3 separate regions of the Homo sapiens genome follow, and all the other regions are linked to region 3. The links are contacts of gene promoters, found by promoter capture Hi-C in human tissues and cell types (Jung and others, 2019). All regions are on one chromosome and are shown on one strand. Each heading gives the region's core, a stretch centred on a gene start or on the middle of the fragment in contact. The rest is flanking DNA. Distances are from core to core; before and after follow the strand shown.

What was found. Contacts are between HindIII fragments. The study calls those that stand out against the background at their distance.
Region 1: the fragment with the promoter of DNASE1L2 here is called in contact with the fragment with the promoter of CCNF in region 3 in 5 of the 25 tissues and cell types used here (H1 embryonic stem cells, bladder, heart left ventricle and 2 more).
Region 2: the fragment with the promoter of CASKIN1 here is called in contact with the fragment with the promoter of CCNF in region 3 in 4 of the 25 tissues and cell types used here (H1 embryonic stem cells, lymphoblastoid cells, mesendoderm cells and 1 more).

Annotation. Positions count from the first base shown.
Region 1 is chr16:2,235,002-2,237,708 of GRCh38, forward strand. DNASE1L2 (deoxyribonuclease 1 like 2) reads left to right here and starts at 1,443. Exons shown (of 7, transcript NM_001374.3): 1 at 1,443-1,559; 2 at 1,777-1,959; 3 at 2,037-2,125; 4 at 2,217-2,300; 5 at 2,375-2,648. The coding sequence starts at 1,816. It overlaps E4F1 (E4F transcription factor 1), which reads left to right. Exons shown (of 14, transcript NM_004424.5): 13 at 80-142; 14 at 215-741. The coding sequence ends at 571. The HindIII fragment of the contact is 25,906 bases long and covers 1-2,707 here.
Region 2 is chr16:2,195,237-2,197,936 of GRCh38, forward strand. CASKIN1 (CASK interacting protein 1) reads right to left here and starts at 1,369. Exons shown (of 20, transcript NM_020764.4): 1 at 1,103-1,369. The coding sequence starts at 1,196. The HindIII fragment of the contact is 36,898 bases long and covers 1-2,700 here.
Region 3 is chr16:2,428,063-2,430,762 of GRCh38, forward strand. CCNF (cyclin F) reads left to right here and starts at 1,385. Exons shown (of 17, transcript NM_001761.3): 1 at 1,385-1,435. The coding sequence starts at 1,420. RefSeq lists enhancers at 446-1,025, 461-640 and silencers at 851-1,700, 1,711-1,760. The HindIII fragment of the contact is 14,340 bases long and covers 1-2,700 here.

The DNA of each region.
Region 1 (2,707 bases), core at 193-2,692, 190 kb before region 3:
GTGGGTGTGGGGCCCTGGGGCCGTGCTGGGACCCAGGGGCAGCCAAGGCTGACCTCTGTCCTTCTGCCCATCTGCCCAGGCCACTGCGGACGATGCGGAGACCAGTGAGGCCACGGAGATCATCGAGGGCACCCAGACAGAGGTGAGGGGTAGGGCAGGCGGGGGCGGGGAGGCTCCCTGGCACAGCCGCTCTTGCTGAGCCGTGGCCCTGCAGGTGGACAGCCACATCATGAAGGTGGTGCAGCAGATCGTGCACCAGGCTAGCGCCGGCCACCAGATCATCGTGCAGAACGTCACCATGGACGAGGAGACGGCGCTGGGCCCAGAGGCGGCTGCCGCCGACACCATCACCATCGCCACCCCCGAGAGCCTGACAGAGCAGGTGGCCATGACGCTGGCCTCGGCCATCAGCGAGGGCACTGTGCTTGCCGCCCGGGCAGGGACAAGTGGCACTGAACAGGCCACTGTGACCATGGTGTCATCAGAGGACATCGAGATCCTGGAGCATGCAGGCGAGCTGGTCATCGCCTCGCCGGAGGGCCAGCTGGAGGTGCAGACGGTCATCGTCTAGCATGAGGTCTGCGGGGTCCTGGCCGGGCAGGGACAGGGCAGAGGACTCTGAGCGCCCCACCCATGCCTGCCTGGCCTGGTAGAGAAGATGGCACAGGATGGAGGCGCCCCAAGACGGACAGTGTACATAAGAGTTTCTTGTTGCTTTACAATAAAACATGAGAACCTGCAGCTTGTGATGTTGTGGCAGTGGCAGCCTCCGCGGCTGGTGCCACCACCTTTGCCCAGGCCCCCGCAGCAGCACCTGCCTCCCAGGCCACTCCTAGACTCACGTGCCTGGCCGCCCCACCCAGGGGCTTCTGCCAGCCCTGGCGGCGCCTTGGTGCTGTGTGGGTGTCATTGGCATGTTGACCAACAGCCTCCTGCCCTGCCCAGCTGGAGCTGTGCCCCCAGCTGCGCTGCCTGAGGCCTGTGGGTGGGTGGGAGGACCAGGGACGGGGACAGGGAGATCTGGGAGCCTCGGCCTCCACCGCAGGGTGAGCAGGTGGAGCAGCAGCAGGAGATGCTGGGTAGGGAGTGTGGCTGGTCCTACCTGCGCTGCCTTGCTTTCCCTGAAGGGATTCTGCTCAGGGAGGCAGAGTCTAGGCGACCTAATTTCTAGGGGCGAGGACAAGAACACAGCCGCACCGGGATGTGGCTGACCGTCTACCTCCCTCCTAGGGGGCTGGCAGGGGCTTCTGGGACGGTTTTGGGACAGGTCTGGGGCACCAGAACCGGCTCAGGCAGGTCTCCCACCCCTTACCCTGGGGGTCTCCATGGGAATGAAAGCCAGGAGTTCATCAGGCACCCAGCTGAGTCGAGGGGGCGGGACCCAGTGCAGCCCGGCCCCTCCCTGGCCCAGGACCTCAAATACCGGCCCCTGCCTTGGTGCCAGAGCTACTGCCAGAGGGAGTCAGTGCAGTCCTGTGTCGGACACGCCCGCAGCCTGGACCCGGGATCCCCATCCCCCTAGGATCTCTGAGCCTCGGGCCTCTGCACCCACATCCAAGGTGAGTCTCTCGGCTGCCCTGAGCTGGGGCTGGATGGGCCGGACCCTCCATTCCGGCTGCAGCTTCCCGCGCAGTGAGAAGGCAGCGGTCCCTGAGAGCCCAGCAGTGCCCTGGGAGCCTGCAGAACGCAGGGGCGGATTCCGCGTCGCACTGGCCGTCAAGGGGCGGCCGCGGAGGGAAGGGGTGGGTCGGTGGGTCTGACAGCGGGTCTGCGTAGGCGGCAGCGTCTGTCCCTCCCAGCCTCTCGCTCCGCGCCATGGGCGGGCCCCGGGCTCTGCTGGCCGCACTCTGGGCGCTGGAAGCCGCCGGGACCGCCGCGCTTCGCATCGGAGCCTTCAACATTCAGAGCTTCGGTGACAGCAAAGTGTCGGACCCCGCTTGCGGCAGCATCATCGCGAAGGTGGGGCCCGGGCCGGGGCGGGGCGGCGTTTAGGGGTGCTGACCGCGCTGACCCCCGCACCCGCCGCTCCTCCCCAGATCCTGGCTGGCTATGACCTCGCGCTGGTGCAGGAGGTGCGAGACCCAGACCTCAGCGCCGTGTCCGCGCTCATGGAGCAGATCAACAGGTGTGGTGGGCAGGGCCCCTCGTCGCGACCCCCCGCCGGGATCTCGCCCCGGCGCGGCGCCCCGACCCTGAGCGGGCCCCTGTCTCCGCAGCGTGTCCGAGCACGAGTACAGCTTTGTGAGCAGCCAGCCCCTGGGCCGGGACCAGTACAAGGAGATGTACCTGTTCGTGTACAGGTGAGGGGCGGGCCGCAGGGAGGGGCGCGCGGGGCCGCAGGTCGGGGGCTCAGCGGGTCCTCCCCATCTCCTAGGAAAGACGCGGTGTCGGTCGTGGACACCTACCTGTACCCAGACCCCGAGGACGTCTTCAGCCGCGAGCCCTTCGTGGTCAAGTTCTCGGCCCCCGGCACCGGTGAGCGGGCCCCGCCCCTCCCCTCCCGCCGAGCTCTGACGCCCCCACCCCTTCCCGCAGCAGCACAGAACCTGGTGCTGATCCCGCTGCACGCGGCGCCGCATCAAGCCGTGGCGGAGATCGACGCGCTCTACGACGTGTACCTGGACGTGATCGACAAGTGGGGCACCGACGTAAGCCCACCCCTCGGTCCCGGGGTCCCTGCAGGCGCGCCCCGGGGGTCTGGTTCATG
Region 2 (2,700 bases), core at 119-2,618, 230 kb before region 3:
GTGAAGTACGGGGGAGGGGGTCCTCCTGGGACTCCTAGGTGCCCCCAACAATCTCCCAGAAGCCAGTCCCAGTTCTCGGCATCCCCCTGGAGGAAGGGGAGGGGGACTCTCTGGCTTACAGTCTGTGGGGGTGGAGGGAGGAGGGAGGACGCCCAGACCCCACGTGCCGACCTGCAGAGCCCTGTCCGTGCCCGCACAGGTGCCCTGACACACTGACACGGCTATACGTGCGCAGCCGCACACGCGGCTGGTCCACACGCCCATCCATCCATCTCCGGCGGCCCCCAGGGAGGCTACGCGCTGAGCCAGGATGAGTGCTGGGACCAGGGCTCCAAGCTCCCAGCCCTTTCCTGGGGCCGGCCATAGGGCAAGCTGGGGATGGCCAGTGGTGGTCCCCCACTCCCTCATGGCCTCCTTTCCCAGCAGGGAAGCTGGAGACCCGGCTCTGCTGGAGCCTGCCTGAGCAGGGCCCCAAGCCCTTGCGCCCAGGCCGGCCCTGCCTGGAGTCCAGCCTGCCCTGGGCTGGGCGACCTTGGGCCTCTGCTCTCCCATCAGTAAATGGCACCCCACCGGCCATGCCAGGGCAGCCACACCCCCAGCGTGGTCCTGCCCCCACCTTCCCTGCAAAGCGTGTTATTAAACGTGGGGCGGGAGGGGGTCTGCTAGGGACTGTCACCTCCCGGGTCGCCCCTCGCCGCAGGGGCCCCCTCCCTGTCTTCCCGGTGCGTGTGGTGGGTGGGGGGGGCATCCGCCTCGCCCTTTGAAGGCCCCAGCAGAGACCTCCAGCTGTCAGCCCGCAGCCTGGGAAGGGAGGGGGACAGAGGTAGAGAGAGAGGGATGCGAACGCCCGCGGCCCGGGAGGCGGGTGCCGCCAGGTGCCCGCTGCGGGGCTCACGGTGGCGGCCGGCTCTCGGGGCCGCCCCATCTCCAGTGCTGGGGGCAGCGGGTGGAGGGCACGGACCAAGGGTCTGGGCGCTGCTGGCCCCGCCCCGCCCCCGGGGACCCGACAACGTCCCCTCCCCGCCCGGCGCCGGGTGGGGGGCTCCGCGCCGGGGAGGGGCCCCCGGGGCTCCCACCCGCGCCCCGCGCCCCCGGCACTCACTGGCCTTCCCGGGCCGCGGCCTCTGCAGCAGCCTCTGCGCGGTCCCTACGTCCTCCGCCTTCACCGCCTGCACCAGCTCCTGCTCCTTCCCCATGGCGCGGCCGGGGCCGCAGCGACGCGGCTGCGCTCGTGAGCTCGGCGCGGCTCAGAGGCGGCGGCGGCCCCGCGGCACCGGCCGCCTCCCCCGCCGCCTCCCCCGCCGCCTCCTCGCCGCCCGCCGCCCCTTCGCCCTCCTCGGGCTCCGGCTTGGGCTCGGGCTCCCGGCGCGGAGGGGGCGGGGAGCGCGTCACGGGCGGGGGGCGGCCCGGGGGCGGGGGCGCGCGGCGGGCGCGGGGCGGGGGCGCGGCACCTGGCGCCGCCTCCCGGACGCCGGGGTCCGCTCCCGGGCCGCCGACCTCCGTCAGCCCGCGCCGGCCGCGCGCCCGGGCCCGTGGCTCCGCCCTCCCCGCGCCCGCCCCGGGACGCCCCCTCCCCACGTGCGCGCAGCGCGCTCAGGCCAGGCCTCTGCGGACGCGGGCGGCCTGGGGCTGCTAGCCGGGCTGGGGACGCGGCCGCCGGGGGTGCACTGGGAGCCCCGACGCGGCGGCGGCGCGGGGCTGAGCCCAGAGAGGCTTCCAGAGGCTGCGGGACCCGCGGGGGACGGTTCCGAGGCAGCGGGCGGGCGGGGACCGGGCGCCGAGAGACCCGGGCGCCAGTGCCCCTGGAGCCGGCCCGCCAGGCTGTCAGGCGTTCCTGGCCCAGGGTTCCCGTGGGAGGTGTCGAGGGATTGTGAAGAGGAATCTCCCAATAATGAATTCGGTGTCAGGGAACCCGCACCCCCAACCCCCAAGCATCCTCCTGCTCCTCTCCGCAAATAATGCGGGCGCCACAGCTTCCCCCAGCCTCAGTCCGAAGCCTGACCCCAAGGTAGCCCCCACCACCCCCACTGAGGGAGCTCAACTCCCCACTCCCCGCACCGACTGGGGGTCGCCTCCATCTCCATCCACAGGGGCTGGAACCTCCCGCCGGCACCAACCGACCCCCGGCCCACGTCTGCCCACTCTCCAGCCTGCAGCCCAGGCAGGCGAGTCCTGCTTCCTGGGTGCTGGAGGCCCCGACTTGTGACCCTCTGAGCTCCTGGCTGAAGGCTTGGGCCACCCTGCGCCTCAGGCCCTCTCCCGTCAGGCCTGCAGCATTCTAGAGGCAGATCAGTGGGGGTCTGAGTCCCGACTCAGGCTCCGTTTCCCTCATCACCCAAGCGGGCAAGGCCGTTTGGAGAATTTGGGGAGGGTCGCACCCATTCTATGAGGCATGGCCTGGCACCCCACTCTGTGTGGCCCCAGACCATTGAGCAGGTCCAGGGGGACAGAGGAGGTCAGACAGCAGGGACAGGGAAGGTGACAGGCACCGGGGTCCCGGCATCCTGTGGGCAGCTGGCCGTTCCCGTTCCCTCCGTGGGGTCTCCTGTTAGGTTCAGGTAGCAGCCCTTGGTCTTCCAGCACTCCTGGGAGGGGTCCCCAAATGCTAGGGCCTTTCCTCTTGCCCTTTCCAATGACCAGTTGAGTACCCGCTGGGTCAGGCACTGTGCTGGTCACCTCCTAGATGAGGTTGGACTCACT
Region 3 (2,700 bases), core at 135-2,634:
ATAAGGGGATAATAAATCTGGGGGCTGAGAACATGGGACATCTGGGGAGCAGGCCCCAAACTCGCTCAGCCTGTCCTCTCTTCACCCTCCTTCACCCGCTTCCTGATTCCGGGACAGGGAATATTCCCAACTTCCAGACCCTCTCTGGGGCCACGGACTCTTCTGTACCCTGTGCTGTGATCACCTGTTTACTCTGTCTCTTGCCCCAGGCCGGCTGAAGCCTGCACGCCAGGGCTCCTGTCTGTGTGCCCAGGGCAGGCCCAGTACTTGAAGGAGTTCTATGGGGACCCGGAAGGATGGAAGGGTGCAGACTGAGGGAAGCGTGAGGGAGGGGTGGGCAGCCTTGGCCCAGGCCCCTGCCTTCCCCAGGAAAAGCCCCCTCTGTCCTCCACCAGACAGTCAGGAGGCTGCGAGTCTTCCCCTTGACAGCCTGTGCCGTAAAAGGGGTGCGGTGTGGCTGACTCCTGAAGGACAGCTCAGATGGGCACTGCCCAAGACAAGAGTGAGCAGATACGACACTTCCCGCGGCGAGCAGCTCCAGGTAGCAGCCGAGGAGGCCAGACAGGGGGCAGCATCTGGCCAAAGTGATGGGGAGGGCTTGCCCCGGGGCTGGAGCACTGAGGCGTCCAGGGTGCGCCACGTTTCGCGGGAAGAAGGGGTCAGCGTTCCGCGGGGGAGACTTCCCAGCGTCAGCTCCGACCTCCTCTTTCTCTACCACGATCCCGGCCAGCATCCCCGCCCAGCAGCGGCTCAGCCACAAACCCAAGGGTCTCCACCTGAAGCAGGCGGCGGAAGGGAAGGCCGTGCAAGCTGGGGGTGAGGGTCGCGGGCCCAGGAGCGACCCCGGGACCCGGGCAGGGCACGGCCTCGTCTTAGAAGCGCCACGTCGAGGCTGTCCCAGGCTGGATCACGGCCGCGACTGCGAGGGACGCCAAGGAGTCCTCTTTCCCCTGGCCGCAGGCGTGCGCCTTCGCAGCCCATCTGGCACCGCAGATGCCGGTCGCCGGGGTCAGCGGCGAAGCCCGAACCCATGCGGCCGGGAGGGGACGCCCACAAACCCCTGCCCGCCGGCCGGGAAGCGCTCCTACGGGACCCCAGCCCCGTTGGGGAGGCGGGGCGGCCACGCGGGTTCCACCAATCAGCGGCCAATGTTCGAATTCGCGTCCTGGCGCGGCCAATGGCGGGTCCCGGAGCAGGCGGGGAGGGCGTGGAGGGCGGTAAATGAGGCGAGCACAGGGCGGGACATGGGCGGGGCCGGCGGCGGCCCCCCCGGGCAGGCCAATGGGAGGGCCGGGTGCGTTTGAAAACTGGGGTGGGCGGCGGGGCGGGGTCTGCGCCTGCGCGAGGGCTACGCGCGCTCCGGCCGGGGCGCGGGCGCGCTCTCAGGCGGGCTCCGGCGGCAGCGACGCGAGCGCGGCGATGGGGAGCGGCGGCGGTGAGTGCGGGGCGATGTCCGCTGGTTTCTGCCCCACACCCCTTCTGCCTGCCCTGCGGGGCGGACGGTGGGTCCCGCGGGAGGGGAGGCCCTGGCGGCCTGAAGAGGGCTGGCTCGAGCTCTTTAACCCGGGGCGGATGTCGCGTCCCGCGCAGGGAGCCCCGGCGGCCGGGCGCGCGGTTTAAATGCCCGGCGGGCGCCCGAGCCCCTCGGAGCCTTCCCCCGCGGCGACGTTTTCCGGCCCTTTCCTGGGGCAACGATCGGGTCCCGGGGCAGCGATCCGGCGATCGGGTCCCGGGGCGGCGATCGGGTCTCGGGGAGCCAAACACCAGCGCCTCCTGGTCGGGGAAAGGGCTGCGGAGCGCGTGGGGGCGAAGCGATCCCGCAGCCCGGCCGGGCCCTGACCGAGCCTCAGTCCAGCGGGGCCGTGGACCTAGCTCTGTGGAAAGCAGCGTTCGGCCCCGCGCGCGTTGAGGCACAGGAAACACGAACTGTGGTTTCAGCTATTATCATAGTATCTGTCCTGGAGCCGGAGAATGAGGAATATTTTATGGAGAGGTCTATAGAATCTTTGAGAATTCGTCGCCCTGGAATACGTTTGGCTTTTGCAGCTGATTTAATTGCTAACAGGAAGACCCCGGTCAAGAGAGGGGAGCCGGGAGCAATCGCTAGGAAGTCCTAGCAAGGCGGGGAGGGATTTGGGCCCACAGAGGGGAGTGGCGCTTCCTTTCAGGACTGGAAGGAAGGATGGATAGAAAGGTAGATTTGTAGATGGGGAGGCAGGATCCTGAGGTTCCTGTCTGAGGGCTTCTGTTTCCCTGTGAAATAAGGGCTAAGGTCATCTGCTTAGAGTGAGGAAGGGGTTGCTGGAGTAGGAGTTGGAAAATCCGGCTGTGGGAAGAGGAGAGAGCACATCTGAGAAGCATGTCCGGGCTGCCTGCCTGGTGGGTGGAATGCCCGTCTCACCTTTAATGATTGCATCTGTACACAAACCTACAGGTCTAGGTTTGTGTTGGGACCTGAGCAACAACCTTACTGCGTAGCTGTCAACTCCGCATTCTACAATAGAGGGCACACTGAGACTCTGCAGAGCTGAGACTTGGACGCACACTGCCCCGGCCTCCAAGTCTGTGGCTTCTCTCCAGGGCCGACCCTTCTAATTTGGACTTGAAAACCAGACTCTTCAAGCCCACAGATCTTTATTGAACATTATGCACCTTGGTCACGTGTGCAAAAAGCAAAGCTATCCAGCAAAGGCCCCAGGA